Regions from separate parts of the Homo sapiens genome. Here region 2 is linked to region 1. The links are contacts of gene promoters, found by promoter capture Hi-C in human tissues and cell types (Jung and others, 2019). All regions are on one chromosome and are shown on one strand. Each heading gives the region's core, a stretch centred on a gene start or on the middle of the fragment in contact. The rest is flanking DNA. Distances are from core to core; before and after follow the strand shown.

Region 1 (6,137 bases), core at 1,008-3,507:
ATATTTACTTCTTTATCCCTTTGTTTGTCCCCCCTTCCCCACTAAATATAAACTCGATGAAAGAAGGACCTTGTTCTGATTCATGTGCCTCTATATCCTGCACCCAGGTCAATTCTTGACCTGTAACAGGGACTGAAATGTACTGAAAGAGGGATGTAAGTCAGGTTGAAAAATTATTAATTATGTCTAACATTTTATTCTTCAGACATTTACTGAACACCCATTTTGTGCTCAACTCTATGCAAGTTTTTGGAAATATAAAGGCAAGTGAGAACAATGTGACCTCCTGCCCCCCTAGAGTTTAGAACATCATGGAAGAAACAAACAATAAGCAGGCAAATACATGTAGAATAAGCCTTCTATGAGGGCAAATATAAAGTGCAGCAGAGAAGGAAGGGTTTAGAGAAAGCTACTGTGAGGAGGTGATATCCATACTGAGACCTGAAGGACAGGCTGAAGGGTAAAAGAGGTGGAGATGGACTTGGGAGAGCACTCCAGGAAGAGGGAATGACAGAAGCCTCTGAGAGCATGTTCCTGTCCTGAAAGTAGCTCAGAGTGACTCCGGTATAGGATGTGAGGGGCAGAGTTGAAAGTCCGAGACTAGAGTAGAAAGCCAGGGCCAGACAGCTCGTCAAGTGTCCTGAAACCTATTCCAAAGAGTCAGGACTTTATTGTTTGAGAAACGTGACACCACTGGAGGATTTTTAAATCAGTGTCATTTTTAGTGTCTGATTCAGTGTACTGCCTTCAGCCAGGAGAGTTGGCAGTATTTCTATTTTATAGATGGGACAACTGAGGCCCCAAATAATACATTTAAGAGATAGGTGGGGTTGATTTAATATTCTCAATCACCATGTTGTCAGGGCCTCCTAACTCTTACCCTCTCACCCTCCATCCTTCCTTCCTTCTGATTGTTATTCTTGTCAAAAGTAAAACATAAAACTATTTACCTGCCATCCTTATTTTTATCCAAGGAACACGTATGCACTCACACAGCTTCCAGAAACCAGTTCCCCTCGGTGGAAGCCAGTTGCTTTAGGGGTGGTGCGGCTTGTATGTGGATGGACACCATGTGTGCACTGAGCCCAAATTCTCTGTTCTTCTTGACTAGGAAGCTGGATTTGTACCAGGGACCTTTTATCTAAATAGGAGACTCTGGGCTCAGGAGAACAGAGCCGACTTGACAAAGTAGAAAAGAGCTCAGTATTGGTCTGCCCACGCTTTGGGCATGCGTGAGCACTCGCAGCAAAACACAGCTGGCACATCTAATTTTAGCCTCGCCCGCCTTGAAAAGGGACCCTTTAAGGAAATATATTTTATCTGAAACAATTTGTATTATAATGTAGCAGCTGATAGACATGACAGAATATTATCATTGGTGGGAAAAAACTCTGCCAAGCAATTATGATTTTTGTTCTTTTTTTTTTAGATGATATCAGTAAAGTGATTAAAGCATCAATGCAACAAAATAATCATAAAGAGAGAGACAATGGGAGAAACAGATTTTATCTGTAAAATATCTGACGAACCTAAGGGGTCACTTCCTTTGATTTTTTTTTTTTTTTTTTTTACAAAATGGATGTATTTTAAAAAAGTTATTATTTTTGATATGTTCAGTTGATCAGTCCAATCTGATGACATGTGGCATTAATAGTAGTCCTGGAGTAGACCCTAAAATTTCTTCAATACTTAACATCCACCAAGTTTTCCAGGTAGTAAAAGGTTAGTTTCTCAATCAGCTCTTGGATGCGTCTGGCTCTAGCGTGTTAACAGATTTTGAAAGCATCCGGGACTTACTTTTTTCCCCTTTAACCAGCAAGGTTAGTTCCCCTGCCTTTATTTCTTTTCCTTTCTCCTCCTTCCTTCTTTCGTCCTCTCTTCCCTCTCTTCTGTGTTTTGTTTAGCAGTGTGGCTTACCTTGGAACTTGGCAAAAAGAGGAACAAAAAGCAGCTCTTGTGTGGGGTAGATGGAGGAGGGATAAGAAATAATCCACCGCCCGCATTTGAGTTCTTCAGGTTCAGTTCCAGCGGCAGCAGCGTTGCTGCAAAAATCGCTTGCTATTCGAGATAGCCAGCAGAGGGAATCGGAACTTTGCTTGCAGCAGGGGTTGAAGCAGCCTTTTTTTTTTTTTTTCTTGGAGGAAATACTGCAGCCTTCTGGACTGCGTACGCTGCTCCCTGGAGAGGCTCTCTCGGTTCCACCCACCGGCTGGAAGGAGGGGAAGTGAATGAAAGGACAGGACAAGCCCCGAACACCATGTCACTCTGGGAGGGAGACAGCAGCAACTAAGCTGTACAAGGTTTTTTTTTTTTTTTTTTCTTCCTTTTTTTCTTTTTTTTTTTCTTTTTCCCCTTTCTTTTTCTTTCTTTCTTTCTTTTTCTTTCTTTCTTTCTCTTTCTCTCTCTCTTTTTTCTTTTTCTTTAAGGTGGGGAAAGAGACAACCAAGAGACAGGAAGCTGATCTGCAAGGATTCGGAGTTGTGCTAAAAGGACTTTGATTTTTTTCCCCCTTTACGAACGCTGGCAATTGACATCACTACAGACAGCCTGGTTAGAGAACAAACTGCCTCATCCCAAGTGGACCCCGGCAGCTGGGGGAAGCCAGGCAAGATCTGGGAAGGCTGTGTGTGGGTGTTTTTTCTACAGATCTCACTCCTCGCCCTTTTTTTTTTTCCTTTGGTGTGTGTTTTTTGTTTTGTTTTGTTTTTTAAAAAAATTCTTGCTGTGTTGGAACTAGCGAGTGGTGGAGTCTCTGAAGCCTCATCAGTCACCGGGACTGTCAGGAATAGTGGTTTAAGAGGAAGCTCGGCCTGGGGCACTATACCCTGTCATCCAGTTCCCTGCCTCGGAGATAAAGATTCCAGCTACATGGGCAAACGCCTGGATCAGCCACAAATGTACCCCCAGTACACTTACTACTATCCTCATTATCTCCAAACCAAGGTATGGCTTGACCCACGGTCTGGCGATCAGCGTGGTATCGTTCTGCACTTGGGATGGGAAACAGACAGGCGTGTGAATTATTAGTTAACCCCCACCCCCATCACTTCTTCCTGCTTCTTTGAAATTAGTGACATACCAATGGAGTTAATGAGGCAGAGGAAGACATAAGAAGAAAGCAGCAAACCCGGAATTGTAGCTTTCTCTTTAAGGAGAGATAATAGTTTCACTTGAGTTCAGTTTCTTTGTTGTTATTTGGCAGCATAAATGGTCCTGATATCAGGAACGTCTTTTGCAGATGGGCACGGTTTTTAGAAAGCAGATCACAACAGTGATTACCAGGCACAAGAATATAATTTCAGGGGCTTTTCTGGTGAGCTGTTCTTTGATTGTGGCTCTAAAAGGGTTTTTCCCACTGGATAGGACGTGCAACGGTGGGGGTAACTCAAACTTTTAATCGCAGGGTATAGAATGAAAGAAGGGTGTGAGAAGGTATAGGGCTCCTACCAGAGTCTCTGAGAGTTTATTTTTATTTTTAATTTGCCTTGCCTATTTTATTTTATGTTGAGGATGATCAGCATGCTACAGACTGCTTTACAATAGATGTTCTTTACTTTTAGAAGATCTATTTTTCTGTGTAGCTGCCATGAGGAGGCCTGAGTCTTGAAAAGGAATGAAATGTAACTGATCATAATTGGACTTGAATTGGTTAAATACTTTAGGCTTTATGTGTGTGTGTCAAATGACCATTAGGGGCCCAGAGGCAAGCCCACGTAAGTAAGCAGTGGGCAGTACCTACCCTGAACTTTATCCTGCAGTTAAGACATGAAAGACTCTCAGGTGTGAAATCACTGCTCCGATTTGTCAATTAAATTGGACTTGATTAGGGGGAAAACATGTTAGCGGAGTGACCACCTCGAGTGTACGGGTGATATTATTTTGTATTGCATTAGCATTAGCCAGACTCCACCGTCTCCTTAATAAATAAATATGCCGAGAGTGAACAAGGCGTGCCTGAATGATCTATGCTGTCACCAGGACTCGGTGATGTGATTAGGGTTAGGTAATTCATGCTGTAGTTATCTGTCATTTATTTTGTCTCGTCCAGCAACGCCTATTTGTAAACCAGACTGGGAAGCAGACTTTCAGTATTATACAAAAGATTATTGCTTTGTTTTTTTCTTTTTCAATTGCTTTGTAATCCACCCTGCCCCTCCAAGGTCGACTCACACTGCTATTTGCCTTTGTGAGCATTTAGTTTGTGCTGCTGATGCTTAAATAGACTAGCCCTCCTGCTCGGTGCCTTAAGTTTTAACTCTTTGGGGGTGTTAGGTTGAGAATGCTGCCTGCCATTCCTCAAGGAAATGGCAGAGCAAGGACAAGTTAAAAGGGGAAAATTTACAGTCATTTCTCATGCCTCAACAAAACAAAAACAATAAACTCAAAGGTTGCATGAAAAATATCAGACATTCCATCCCTTTTACTCATTTGGCTACATTTTTCCAAGTGTTTCAAAAATTACACTTTGTTTCGGGTCCTTGTTTTCTACTATGGTATATATTCAGAAAAGAAACTTTAGATTGAAATGAATAACATAATTGTTTTTCTGTTTGAGACTTCTTTTAACCTATTACTAACAGGAAATAGTGAATGTTATGCACATTTTTTCAAAGACACAGGCTGCTGGATGAGCTATACTAGTAGAAAGTGTGTGCGAGAGAGAGAAAGATGGGGGGTAAAGAGAGAGAGTGGAGTAGTGAGGGAAAAGAGAGGAGCCTGAAAAATAGGGAGATTGTAGATATCTGTTTTGGAGTTCTATGTAGTTTAGTGTTGTATAGACAGGCGGCATCTGGATCTTGTTACTCTCAAGCTAGCCAACACCTTGAACTTCTGGAACATTTTTAAAGAAGTTAGATCCATTAGGCGTCCTATGTTGATATTTGGATAATCAGATCAGGATAGTAGGGAATATAAGATCAGCTATTTTGCCTATCATGGTAGTTCACATTGATTATTATGTTGTAAAATGTTGACAATGCTTTGAAGTTGTCCTGTATTGTTATGGTGGCTCTGAAATGACAGACATTAATAGCATTCCTGGAAGCTGAAGATGAGAAAATGTGCCCTGTTTTGAAACTTGCATAGAGAGGAAATGAGATGAAGAGTCAATGTGCAATCATATTTTAAAATGTGGGTACTGGGGATTTTCTGACAGGGTTAATACTATACAATGAAGTACCATCATGTTTCAGTGTAACAGGAAAACAACTGGGTTATTTCCACATCACTTTTTGTTCCTTCTACACTTATACCTCAAAATATAATTTATAATCATTTTAAATGAAGTACATGCTGCTTATATTTATTTGGTAAGCCTGGGTGGAATTCATAAAATCCACTCTTTGTAGCCTTGGCTTGGAGTTATAATCCAATTTGAAATTCATAGCTATTTAAAATGATGCTGATATGTCAATAATACTTATGTTTGATGAAAATAGAGTCTACGGTAGGTAAAAATCGTATTCTGGTGATAACATATCTTAAATTTTTCTCTAAATTGAGGTAGGTTTTCTTCCTGCCAATCCACAAGGGCTATTTACTATCATTAGTTTTTTGGGGAAAATCTTCATGGGATTTTAAAGGATTGAAATGTTTATTACTACATTATTTCAGAAAATGCACACATGCTGAACTCTCTTTTTCTACTTGTGTAATGATAAATACCTTTGCTATTTTTTAATGATAAAACAAAATGAAAATGAGATTTAAGAAATAAATGCAGATGTTTCCATTCCCTGGAATACATAGTAAAGTTTTAGAAGAACTTGCGACACTTCCCTGCCTTCTCTGCTCCTATTATTTTCCATTGCATTGGAATGAATCTCTCAACTTTGTTTCTTTAAAAGTAAATGTTTATGCTCCTTCAAATAATTTTTCAAATCCTTAAAATGTTATATATTAGAAAAATATACATGTAAGTTAAGATGAAAACCCAGTGGCTGACTCATATCTATAATGTGTAACAATGTTGTCATCCTGTGCTCCCTCTTTCACACCTCACGTCTTTAAAAAGTTGTCATTTGTCAATTTTCTTTTTGATGAATTTTTCTTTTTTTTTTTTTTTTTTTTTACCAAAAGAAGCAATTTCAAGGAGGAACATTACTTCGCTTAAGGAATAATGAAGAAATCTTAGTGAT
Region 2 (6,137 bases), core at 1,285-3,784, 330 kb after region 1:
TCATAGTCCAACCTTAAGCCTTTGTGACACTTCTATTTTTTAAGTTTAGTCCTTGGATGCTATTCCTTTTGGAGGCAGAATCCAGGCCTGGTGCCTCATCATCCTTCCTATAGAGTTCTGCACATGGTGGGCTCTCGGATTTTTATTGAATGTCTCAAAGCAAGTTAATTCTCCTTCAGAGGCTAGGCAACTAAATGTCGTGGGAAAGAAGAATCCAACTGACTAAAATAGATATCATGCTACAGTACCTGCAAATGAGCTCAGATATTAAATTTTTGATCACTAAAAATTCCTTCAATTAGAGTTGGAAACCATATATGATTATGCTTCTGGATAATTTGCAATGGATGTTCAATTTTTCTTTCAGGAAACAGCTCTGTTCCTTTAGTTTTTAATATCTATCACTCAGTAGATCTTAGCAGTTAGTGATCATTAGTTTTCCTCCAGGGATAGACTACTAGAAGAGTGGAAATTTGGTTGGCATTTGTCTACCAGCATATCTTTTTAATGGGGTTAGAGCATGATAGCAATTAAACCTTAGGTGCTTTGAGATATCTTTTGGCATATTGGATATGTTGACATCCTCCTCCAAAATAAAGCAAAAATAAATCTTATAATGACTTTCTTTTCTTTATTCATACACTACAACTTTCTCATAGCTTGTTTTGTAACTTGCATTGAATATTATGGTTCCATTCCTTCTTTGTATATTTCAAGCATAATATTTATATTCTCCTTATATTTTTGTAAATTGTTTATCCTCCTTTGCTTTTCCTCCTTTGAAATACAATCTGAAAACAAGTTATGGATTAAAGGAAGCCACTGTGCAGACTAAAAATTCTTAAACTGAAGAAAAAATGAAACATTTTACGATTGTTTAGGTATTATAGGCATTGACTGGCTAGTAAAAAGGTCAATGCACCAGCAGAAGGTTGTATACGCTGTTAACAAAGGCAATTCCTCATGAAATGTTGTACATTTCAATATATAGAATCATATTGAATAATACTATGGAAATTCCTTTGAGTTTTCCAGAATTTTAAATGAAGTAAATTTATACGCTTTCTATGTTGCTCTTAATATCGATGATCCCAGATTATTGTGTAGATTAGGGAACCACCTACATACTTTCTGTACTTCATGGTAGATCCTGGTAGAAAAAGAAATGAGGTTGAGAGTGAATGCAGATAGCAAGGGTTATCCAAAAGAATATAGAAAAAGTAGAAATGGAAGATAATGTAATATTATTTCATAAGTTGATGAACTTGTGAGGATAAAAATGAATTTCAGTTATGCTTGACTTTGGCAGTTCAGATTCTACAAGGCGGGGAACAGTACAGCTTTGGGACCCTTTTTTAATATTCTCCCTAAGTTGACTTTAGTGGGTGGATTTAGTATACCATGTCAAGAATGCTAGTACTGATGATTTGTGTCCTTTTGTACTAATGTTGCTAACATGTTCATTGCACTTCCAAGAAGATCGTCACAACTATTTAGAACCTGGTCAGATATAGCAGTTTGACCTTAGTATGTGGTTTTCTTGCATTTTCCCCTCTTTCTGGCTTTGTTAAGACATGAAACAAGGTAGTTTTTTTTTTTTTTTCTAACTCCTTGGAAGTGTATATATATCTTATGAGTTATACCATCCTAGCTTTGGTGAAACTCACAGTTTACAGTTTGACCTTTCTTAGTAAGTAGGAGTTTTGCTGAATCATACTCCAGTACTGTGAGGTTGCAGATTGTCTATTCCTTAAGTCTTTAGGTTGCTTAATGATAAATTAAATAGGGGATGGCTGTCTTTTCTCACTCCTAGATTTTATTCACCACACACTCAGTGGTGTAATAACAATCCCTTCGCATTGTCATATGATTGATGTTTAAAGACCCTATTATTTGGAACCTGATTCCCATCAAGGTTTATGCAAATATTTATGGATCACTACTTGGCTTACAGGATGCTAGACATTCTGACATGGTCACTTGTATACCAAAAGATTTTACTGACAAACATTTCAAGTGTGTTTGACTTATTTTGAACATCAACATAAAATTTACTGGATCCCAGAGGATTTCAATAACAAATAGAATTTGGAATCAGAGCTGGAGTTGGACACATTTTGCTCATGTCATTAGAATCTTCCTCAGACTTCTCAGACTCTCTTTGTATAAAGCATCCATGAGAAGCTGTCATGTCTAATTTCTTATAATAAGTAGGGTCAATTTCATGAGCAGAACATATGACTGTATTTTATATATGCAATATAAAATCACAACCAGACATAAGTGGACATGGGAAAAAAAACAGCAACCAGATTAAACATTCACAGCTGTTTCTGAGTTTTTCTGTATTGTTCCTTTACTATTTGTTTATTCATTCTTTTATCTTCTAGTGCTCACTTGCAGACAAATGTTGCCCATGCCAATGTTTCAGAAAATACATGAGATAAAACATAGAAAAAATTCTATCCATCAATGTGCTATTTTTTTCTTTGAATTGAAAATTTTTCCATTGTATTAATTTAGAGTGAAATTTTTCTCATGTAAAGCATTCTATAATATGCAATACAAACAACAGGCAAACTATGCCAGATAAATTAATAAATAAAATAATCTGACAGAGAAAAAAGTACTGTTTGCTTCACAGTTTCACTAAACCTAAATATTCTATTAAAGTCAGTGTATGGAGTATGCTGGAAAATGGCAAACATTCTGTGTGGGTTTCAGAATTGCTGTATTGGGTACATTTTAAATATTTGGTTATCATGTCAAGTTATTACACATTTTAGATATTTATGATTATTGAGATTTCAATAATAAGCTATTAAATATTTTATTTAAAGTTCCATTCTATTTTTTGTTGCCTTAGTCCCATTGGGCTGTTATAGTAAAATGCCATAGACTAGGTAGCTTATAAACAACAGAAATTTATTTCTCAGAGTTTTGGAGGCTGGGAAGTCCAAGATCAAGGTGCTGACAGATTCAGTGTCTGTTGAGGGCCTGGTTCCTGTCTCAAATGGAGCCTTCCAGCTGTGTCCTCACACTGTGGAAGGGGCAAACAAGTTCTGTGCCTATTTTATAAGGATATTATTCCCATATATGAGGGTTCTGCCTTTATGATCTAATGATTCCCAAAAGGCCCCACCACCCAATATCATCATTTTTGGAGTTACTATTTCAAAATAAGCATTTTGGGGGGATGCAACATTCAGACCATAGCAGCTGTACAATTGGCAAAAGGATTGCCTGTTTTTAAATCTCTGAATTTGATTTTTTTTCCCAAATACCTTTACTAGAAAGAAAATTTAAACATTTTACATTTTTACTTTACATGGAGAAAATTCATGTCTTGCTCTGTTGTAAGTTTCATATTATTCTCTGTTTAAAGTTCCCAATCAGAACATATTACAACAAAATCTAACCAATTAATTAATTGTTTTCACTATCTTGATCATAAATTTTGTATATTCCTTTACAATATTAATTCTTTGCTGCTAGTCTTAAGAAAAAAATAAGCTTTGTGGAAAAAGATAGGTATATGCATATTTTGTGTATATTTTGCCTTTACTATAGAATTTATGAAACATACACAAAAGCAGAGAAAATAGTGTAATTTACATGGTACGAGAAATCTCAACATGCCCATCATCCAGCTTCAACATTTATTCTACTATGAATCTTATTTCATCCAACTATTTTACCACTTTCTCACTCTTCAAGAATACATTATATTATTTTATAATATTTATAGATAAAATAATATGTCTGTCTATATCCCAGACATCATATTATTTCACCTATATATATTTTACCATTTGCCTCTACCAGCCAAGAATTGGTATGTATTCATCATCCAGATTGAGGTATTTTTTTAAAGCAGCATTAACTTTTGTGGAAGTATCGTAATAAGACGGAATATTCTGAGTTAAAATCAAACAAATCTTTCCAATTAAATAATTGAGAATTAGCTAGAAAAATGACTTAAAACTTAGTGTAATAAAGCTAGTAGAATATTAAAGATAAGGCATAACACATTTCTTCTTACATTCTTAGTTTCATTGTGATATAAGGATTAGTTATATGCTGCTTAAAGTCAAGATTATACAATTACACAGAAAATGTTCCAAGCTAATCCCTTGGGGTTGATTTTGGCTGATAGTCTATTATTTAGATGACCAAAGATGACAGAATATACTTCTTAATTTACATGAATTACTCATCTAAGTTTTATACATAGTTTAACACATGCTGCATGCATGTATTAAACTGCATGAACGAGCTGAGATGAGAGAAGAATATAGTCAAGGTAAAAATGAGGAGCTAGATACATTCACCAAAACTGCTTAGGGAAAGTATAGCTTAATTTACCCTTTAACTAGAATAGCTGAGAGGGCAAGAGATCCAAATAGTCCCTGAGTGAATGCAGAAACTGAATGTGCTTAATGGCATATTTTTGTGTGTAAATACGTCTCTCTTCTGTGCTCCTTGTTTGCATTAGGGAGAATAGTAGGGGGAGGCAGAAGTCTTCTCTTATGTTAATAGAAAGTGTGGTTTATGTATTCCTTATAAATTTCATTCATATTCTTTATGGGCAGCATTCACTGCAGAATGTTGGATGAGTGGAGTGCTTACTTCTCACTATCTGAATGTTGTAGAACTAGTTATTTTTATTTCCAAACTGTTGTGGACTGATGCTTTTATAAAATATAATAAAAATAAATTACCAGAAAAATAAAATAAAGGAAAACAAAGATATAGACATAAAACTCATCTATCAAATGAATATAAAAGTTTCTAAATGCTTACTCTGCATTTCTGTCCCTGTTTCTTCTGAGACAGGTTAACGAACACTTTAAGTGAAGATGACACTTAATGTAGTACTGGTCCAGACTGTTGATCCATATGTAGAGGTGACAACTGCAGTATTGGACTGGCAGTATGGCACTGTCAATGACCAGGAAGCACAGACCTCAATGAAAGAACTGATGAAAGGGTCCTGGGTGCCCTCTTATCTATCCTAGGTTTTAACTGGATTGTACAGTGATTCTGGGCATCCTAAGGGAGGAGTCAGGTGAATGAGGCAGTCCAGAAGACACTTGGTAGGGGGAGGGTTCAGTCAGCAGCTGTTTTCCAACAGGTATGGGTGGAAGTATTTCACTATGTAAACAACCAGCATAACCATACACAAATAATACTAGTGCCTATCAGTGGAGAATCTGTACTGCTGTCATCTCTACATTTATAGATACTGGAGAACAGGGAGCCTCTTGTTGCCTCTGTGCCTGGCAAAAGGCCTGATACATGGTAGATGCTGAGTAAATATTTGTTGAGTTGATGGGTGACTGATTGAAAGAGGTTTGTAGAAGGAATTCTTCCCTTTTAAAATTTGTATTAAACTGTGATAATTCAGACACTCAAATAAGGTGTGTATATGTCAGTGTCAGGATGTGCAGAGCTTCCTTTCTAATCAGATGCAAGGGGATTCGTGCACAAAAAGGGAAACAGATTATTATTGAACCCATGTCCAAGTCAAAGAATTATTAATATACATTTGCTTTGAGGTGCACGTAGAGCTTTTCTGTTCATTTGACCTAATCCTATTTGCATGTATGCTGCTAAAACATTTCAGCCTTTTCTCATAAGTAGAAACATTAATTTTAAAAATCAATTTTACTTTGAATTAAAGCCTATTCTAAAATAAGTTCCCTTTAAATCTTTATTCTAAATATTTTAGATGACTTATTTTTTATTTGAGGACAAATATCCAGGGAGATATGGGGTATTAACTGATGAAAGATGATACAAGATAAATGTGGACCCTGTCGTGAATACAGGTACACTCTAGAATGAATATGACAGATTAATGTACAAACATCAGCTAGAAACAGTAGCAAACTAATGTAAGGCTAAATACCTACAAGAAATAAATTTTATGCAGTAGTCACCATAATTTGTCATGTTCTTTCTCAAGTCCAGGCCTATGGATAAGACTGACTCTCACCACCCTCTGTTACCCACCTTGATGAAGTAACACAAAGTCATTTTTCAGATGTCTGTGTAGATGCCACTTCTTGCAGGACCATTTTGAGGGACAGTGCCTCCACCCATATTCACTTATCGCCCCTTCTTTGAGCCTTCCT

The links. Contacts are between HindIII fragments. The study calls those that stand out against the background at their distance.
Region 2: a fragment that was not itself captured here is called in contact with the fragment with the promoter of RBMS3 in region 1 in 1 of the 25 tissues and cell types used here (mesenchymal stem cells).

Annotation. Positions count from the first base shown.
Region 1 is chr3:29,278,814-29,284,950 of GRCh38, forward strand. It overlaps RBMS3 (RNA binding motif single stranded interacting protein 3), which reads left to right and starts at 2,258. Exons shown (of 15, transcript NM_001003793.3): 1 at 2,258-2,943. The coding sequence starts at 2,869. RBMS3-AS3 (RBMS3 antisense RNA 3) reads right to left here and starts at 2,126. Exons shown (of 3, transcript NR_109804.1): 1 at 1,918-2,126. RefSeq lists an enhancer at 1,113-1,162. The HindIII fragment of the contact is 9,133 bases long and covers 1-6,137 here.
Region 2 is chr3:29,604,381-29,610,517 of GRCh38, forward strand. The region is part of intron 4 of RBMS3 (RNA binding motif single stranded interacting protein 3); the gene reads left to right. Among named protein-coding and RNA genes, the nearest start is that of RBMS3-AS2, 35 kb to the right of the region's middle. The HindIII fragment of the contact is 6,866 bases long and covers 1-5,967 here.